Linked DNA regions of Homo sapiens: region 1 is linked to region 2. The links are contacts of gene promoters, found by promoter capture Hi-C in blood cells and fetal thymus (Javierre and others, 2016). All regions are on one chromosome and are shown on one strand. Each heading gives the region's core, a stretch centred on a gene start or on the middle of the fragment in contact. The rest is flanking DNA. Distances are from core to core; before and after follow the strand shown.

Region 1 (3,128 bases), core at 36-2,535, 260 kb before region 2:
TTACTTTTGAGTATTTTATAATAGGTGAATTAAATTCAGCTATTCTTTTTAGAAAAAGAAAAAAAAGATGACAAATGTCAATGTCATTTATAACTGGTAGGAAATCCTAGAAAAGTAATTCCCAAAGTGCACTGGTTTTATGGCCATCCACCTCCCCCTGTAAACCTAACAAAACTATGCAGGACATAGGTTAAAAAAGACACTGTCAACATCAACAGATAACAAGTCTGTTCCCACCACATTTAGGATAAATGGCCAAGCATATAGTGGATAAATGGAGAAGAGTAAGAGGACCTCATCCTTCTTGAGTCAAGGTCCTTGGAAGAGCTTCTGTGTTCTGGAGTGAGTACACATTCTTACTTTTTAAAGATCGGAATTAAACCAAAAAGTTGGTCCCTAGTTTCCTGAAGTAATTCAGCTCTGAACTACAACTTTAGCAAACACTTGCTATACCTGCTCATACCTGTTAAGCAGTTTCATATTTCTAAATGTGATAAATGACAGAGGTGATTCTTACGTATCTACATTTTCAGGTACCCCACAGGGTCCATCCACATTGAATCAACTGTCTTATCTTTTAAACAGACAATACTACAACCTTATAGTTATATTACAGTTGATATTTTCTCAAAGTGCTGTCATATACATTATCTCATAGTCATTAAAATAATGTGAACAATAAAGTTTTTTTAAAGAAAAGGGAATGTAGGACTAACTAGGTTTTTTAAAAACTCAAGTTGGTATTTCTTTACTACAAAGTGCACATTGCTGTGTTGCTGAGGTCTGTCCAAAAGAATGACCCCATTGAATTTTTTAAATGACTGAATTCTACTGAGTGCTTGCTTGGCTTGTGTTCCCATTACTCCACATTCAAGCCCCTTAAGGTCAAAGTGTCAGGAGCATGTGCTTTAGAAAGTGTGCAGCACCACACAGGCTGATTGTCGGTCTGAGCCACTTTTTTGCAGTGTCTCACATGGCAGCAGGTATGGTGGAAAGACCCCACAACCATAAAGTCAAGAGACTTGAATTCTAGCCTTGGCTCCGCCACTAATTAACCGTTCTGAGACAATAGGCAAGTAATTTAACCATCTTCTGCTAGTTTCTTAATCTATAAACCAAAGGGTTGGGGTACTGATAGTTTTCAGATAGCACTGGGTGTTTCAAACACCTGGCGAGATTACTGGAGAATACACTGGCCGAGACCCCAGCCCACTGGGAATTCTGATCTGGAGTGGGGCTATTCCGTCAGTTTTTTTTGTTTGTTTTGTTTTGTTTTTTAACCCTAGGGGATTCTGCTGTGCATCCCTAGACTAGGTGTTAATAATAGTAGTAGTAGAACATTTATAGAGTGTGCTCATTGTGTGCCAGGCACTTGAGCTAAGTATCTTACAAATATCATCTCATTTAATCCTTACAACAACCCTGAGGTAGTTACTATTATTATCCCTGTTTTACAGTGAGGAAACTGAGGCTCCCAAGGTTAAATGACTTGCCTTTTAGACTGGCATTAGAGCCTAAACACTAAACCACTATCTATACTGCATCCTTTAAACTCAAAATCTCCATGACTTTAGTTAAATAAAAATGGGCAGTGCCTTAGCAAAGTCAGCATGCTTTATTACCTGGGACATATTTTACTAGCCAATTTTCAGTTGAATCCTAAGAAACTTTCTATCTAATTTAAATCTTAAAATGCTGCTGGTAAAGGGTCTCCACTATAATGACCTCTATGTACAGAGGTCATCTAGAAAAACACTGAATGAATTTCTTAGGGCCAAATTTTTTAAGGCTAATCTCTGAAAATCATGATGGAAGTCTACAGGAAAATATATACATTTAAATTTTACACAAAGCCTTTTAAGAAAATACTTTAGGTAAAGCACAATCAAGATGTATTCAACACAAATCACTGCATTTTAAAGTGGGAAATCTAAACTGAAGTAATATTATCTGTACATGAAAGGAATCAAGCAGTGGCAGCCCAAAGGCATGCATCCAGATATACAGCATAACCACTTTAGAAAACTGTCAACGCCTTGGACAAGGGCCTTTGCTCATTGCTTTTAGAATAGTTAAAATTAAACTACACTTTTCCAGAAGCAGTTCTCTCTGCTTTGGATTCAAACCTTTTAATTTACATAAGGGTTTGTGTTTAAGCTGGTCCTTTTCAAGTAGAAAAAGGAAAAACCTAAATTATGCTTGTATAGTAAGTTGACAGTGCCTCTTTAACCTGAACCTTGAGCCCTCAACCCCTGAAGTTACATAGTTCAAGCATCATGTGGACGGGGTATGCTCCAATAGTCAATGCCACTCTTGACAGTGTTGACAAAAATCAATTCCATTTATATATCGTGCACCCACTGTAGGCAAGACAGCTAGGTGCTGCCCCTGAGTAAGACACAGCCCCCACCCCCTACCCTTCAGATTGTTGTTGGGCAAGAAAACCAGGGAGCCTAAATACACTCAGTAGTGTTTCTCCAAGGCTTAGTTCCAGAACTCTCAAGGGAAAATAGAGCCCTTGCTTAAAAAACAAAAAACAAAAAAACCCTGAAAAACAATTACAATCCCTTAACTTGCATCCCACAACAACAGGGATAAACCTAAAAAGCAGCATAATAATATTCTACAGTTTTAGCTTTCCCATCCTCGACCTTAAAAGGCTAGCTGCTAAAACGAGTTCTTCAAGTTTACGGACATGTATGATGAGCAAGAATGGCAGGAAAGAAGGTGGGAGAAGGACCGCTGGTTTTTACATCTGAGTTCTCTTCCAACCACTAGGAGGAGATGAACCCAATCACTAGCTGCCTGTGCTGCAACTGCAGGTGACATACTGCGGGGATCACCCAACACCTGCCAGGAATGCCCAGCACCGCGTGTCTCCTCTAATCCTCTTAACCTGGGCCTCCTTTGGAGCAGCAATGGTAAGAATCAAGGTTTCCTTTCTTTCCAATGAAAACTCAATTTTGTTCTTGGTCAAAAATGCCAAACTCTATTCAAAACATAGTTTTCCCCTTAGTATTCTAGCCCAATTCATATAATCTCAACAATTCTTAATTTCATTAATATTTTCTACTCAGCAAATAAGATAATGGAAAACAATTCAGCATAACAACACTGCACTAAAAGAG
Region 2 (3,208 bases), core at 638-3,137:
ATTGAATAAGATAAAGTTTCCTCCCTGTCTGGAAGCAACTAGACGCTGGGCTTCTCCCAGCGATTCATTATTTGGCACTAAATCTCTGCCTTAATATGAAACGATCCGGCTCATGCCTGTAATCCCGGCACTTTGGGAGGCCGCGGCGGGTGGATCACCTGAGGTCGGGAGTTCGAGACCAGCCTGACCAACATGGAGAAACCCCGTCTCTACTAAAAACACAAATTTAGCTGGGCGTGGTGGCGCATGCCTGTAATCCCAGCTACTAGGGAGGCTGAGGCAGGAGAATCGCTTGAACCTGGGAGGCGGAGGTTGCGGTGAGCCGAGATCGAGCCATTGCACTCCAGCCTGGGCAACAAGAGTGAAACTCCGTCTCAAAAAAGAAAAGAAAAGAAATGATCCCTCACCGAACCGAGCCTCAGTTCAGTGCGAAGGCTCTGATGATACTCTTTTTTTTTTTGAGACGGAGTCTCGTTCTGTTGCCCAGGCTGGAGTGCGGTGGCGCCATCTCGGCTCACCGCAACCCTTTCCTCCCCGGTTCAAGCGAATCTCCTGCTTCAACCTCCTGAGTAGCTGGGATTACAGGCGCGCGCCACCTCTCTTGGCTAATTTTTGTGTTTTTAGTAGAGACGGGGTTTCACCATGTTGGTCAGGCTGGTCTCGAACTCCTGACCTCGTGATCCACCCGCCTCGGCCTAAGAAAGTGCTGGGATTACAGGCGTGAGCCACCGGCCGCTGATGGTATTCTTTCCTGAGGGCAGATTTTCACGCCAGAAGCCCCGACAATTATACCTGAGCTGGTTCCACCTAAGCTCAATCCTCCTTCCCTGCCCCAAGGGGGTGAAAAATCTGGGCCCAGGAGGCCTTCCTTGTGCTCTGGGGGGAGGCATTTAAGGGTCCAAGGAAGACGTGACCGAAATGTAAAGCACTGGACGGCTTACCCAATAAGGGACCCAGCGTTTCTTATTACCCAACATCCCCCTGAGTCTGGCTTTTAGAAAAATATGCAAAGCGTCCGGGCGCAGTGGCTCACGCCTATGATCCCAGCACTTTGGAAGGCCGAGGCGGGCGCGGTCAGGAGTTTGAGACCAGCCTGGCCAATATGGTGAAACCCCGTCTCTACTAAAAATACAAAAATTAGCCGGGCATGGTGGCCCCCGCCTGTAGTCCCTCGGGAGGCTGAGGCAGGAGAATCGCTTGAACCTGGGAGGCGGAGGTGGCAGTGAGCTGAGATCGCACCATTGCACTCCAGCCAGCGCGACAGAACGAGACTCCGTCTCAAACAAAACAAAACAAAAAACAAACTACAAAATTAGCCGGGCATGGTGGCGTCTGCCTGTAGTCCCAGCTGCTTGGGAGGCTGAGGCAGGAGAATTGCTTGAACCCAGGAGGTGGAGGTTGCAGTGAGCCGAGATCGCACCATTAAACTCCAGCCTGGGCGACAAGAGGGAAATTCCGTCTCAGGGGAAAAAAAGAGAAAGAAAGAAAAAGAGGAAGAAAGAGAAAGAAAAATATGCAAAGCAACAAAAAAGAGAGCTAGAAAGATGGAAACAACTCAGAAGACCCTTGCTTAACCCGCGTGCGTCACGGGCTACAGGGGTCGGCCCCTCGAGCTAACCCCCACCGGCGCCTGCGCACTGGCCTGGCCCGCGGCAGGAAGCCCCGGCGTGAGACACTTTCGGATTCCGTGACAACGGCGGGATTAAACGTTTTTCTTCTCCTTTGCTACTGAACCTATGCTGTGACTTAGAACATAAGAAACTCCAAGAGGGTGTAGGGATTGTCTTAGCTGTCTCCCTCCTCCGCCGGCACCGCTGAAGGCAGCCCCTATGGAGGGCGCTAAACCTCGGGGCCCTGGGTTTCTATGACGACAAACAGGCGTTCCAGCAAAGGAGGAAGTGAGCGGATGCTGGGCGGGTACGCAATGTGTGGGTAGGATCGCGGGTGTCCCTTTCCCGTCATTTTAAACCAAGAAGCAGTGCGAGGCCTGCCCAACTCGCGAGTTTGTGGAACTGGCGCGCGAGAGCGCTGCCTGTGGGGAAGGTATGGTCCCCAGCCGAGCCGCCTGCAGCGAGTGTCCCCCACCAGGGGTGCCGGCGGTCTGCGGGGTCCGCCGAGCGGGTCCTTCCTGCCCTGCTCCTTGACCCCGACCTGACGGTCCACTAAGGCTTCTTAGTCGCTACACATAACCCCAGAACATAGAGGTCGCCCCGAAGAAGGAGAACCATGCTAGATGAATTCTAAACTGCGATCTGAACCTAAGTACTCAATAGTTGTCATCTTTTTTTTTTTTTTTAAATCTTTTTTCCTCTGCCTGCAGGACTATGTGGCAGCCTGCAAGTCCCAGTGCGGCGCTGATTTGTGTCTAAATTAGCTTTCCGGAGGACTATTTCAAATTACTAAAGAGATAGGAGGCATTGTTTATTATGTCTCTCCCGAAAACGCCCTCCACCCCGCTAAACTCTACATCAACATCTGAGAGCAAAAAGTTAAAAGTGTCTGTAGCCAAGGAAGGGACAAGAGGTAAACTTCGTTGATTCTGAAGTCATAAACAGTCATGGCCGTAAGACAGAAATCACCTTCCATTCACCGGTTTTTTAAATCTGATATTCAGAATACCTTGATTGGCTACATTTTTCTAACACACTTGCTTAAATAAAGCAAGAAGTCATTCCTTTTACAGTATTTTGAGTCAGAGTACTGTTTCACTACTCCATCTAAATACAGTTTATACTTTTTTTCAAATGTTGATTTATATATGATTTTAAATTCAACCTATTTTAAATATCAATAGTTACGTATTTTTTGGTTCCTGGTCTTTGGCTTTAAGGAACTTTGGAAAAAGTAATAGTGAGGCAGGGCGCGGTGGCTCACGCCTGTAATCCCAGCACTTTGGGAGGCCGAGGTGGGCGGATCACTTGAGGTCAGGAGTTCGAGACCAGCCTGGCCAAATATGATGAAATCCCGTCTCTACTAGAAATACAAAAATTAGCCGGGCATGGTGGCTCGCGCCTGTAGTCCCAGCTTACTCTGGAGGCTGAGGCAAGAGAATCGCTTGAACCCAGGAGGTGAGGTTGCAGTGAGCCAGGATCGAGCCATTGCATTCCAGTCTGGGAGACAAGAGCAAGACCCCATCTCAAAATAAATAAATAAATAGGCCGGGCACAGTGGCTCACACCTGTAATCCCATTTGGGAGGCTGAGGCTGG

Evidence for each region. Contacts are between HindIII fragments. The CHiCAGO score rates a contact against its expected background, and 5 or more counts as called.
Region 1: a contact is called between a fragment that was not itself captured here and the fragment with the promoter of AXDND1 in region 2, in 9 of 17 cell types (naive CD4 T cells, activated CD4 T cells, total CD8 T cells and 6 more). The highest score is 11.7, in naive CD4 T cells.

The regions. Positions count from the first base shown.
Region 1 is chr1:179,102,789-179,105,916 of GRCh38, forward strand. It overlaps ABL2 (ABL proto-oncogene 2, non-receptor tyrosine kinase), which reads right to left. Exons shown (of 12, transcript NM_007314.4): 12 at 1-3,128. Among named protein-coding and RNA genes, the nearest start is that of TOR3A, 22 kb to the left of the region's middle. The HindIII fragment of the contact is 4,193 bases long and covers 1-3,128 here.
Region 2 is chr1:179,364,084-179,367,291 of GRCh38, forward strand. AXDND1 (axonemal dynein light chain domain containing 1) reads left to right here and starts at 1,888. Exons shown (of 26, transcript NM_144696.6): 1 at 1,888-1,917; 2 at 2,321-2,523. The coding sequence starts at 2,427. RefSeq lists enhancers at 1,439-1,838, 2,219-2,288. The HindIII fragment of the contact is 9,843 bases long and covers 1-3,208 here.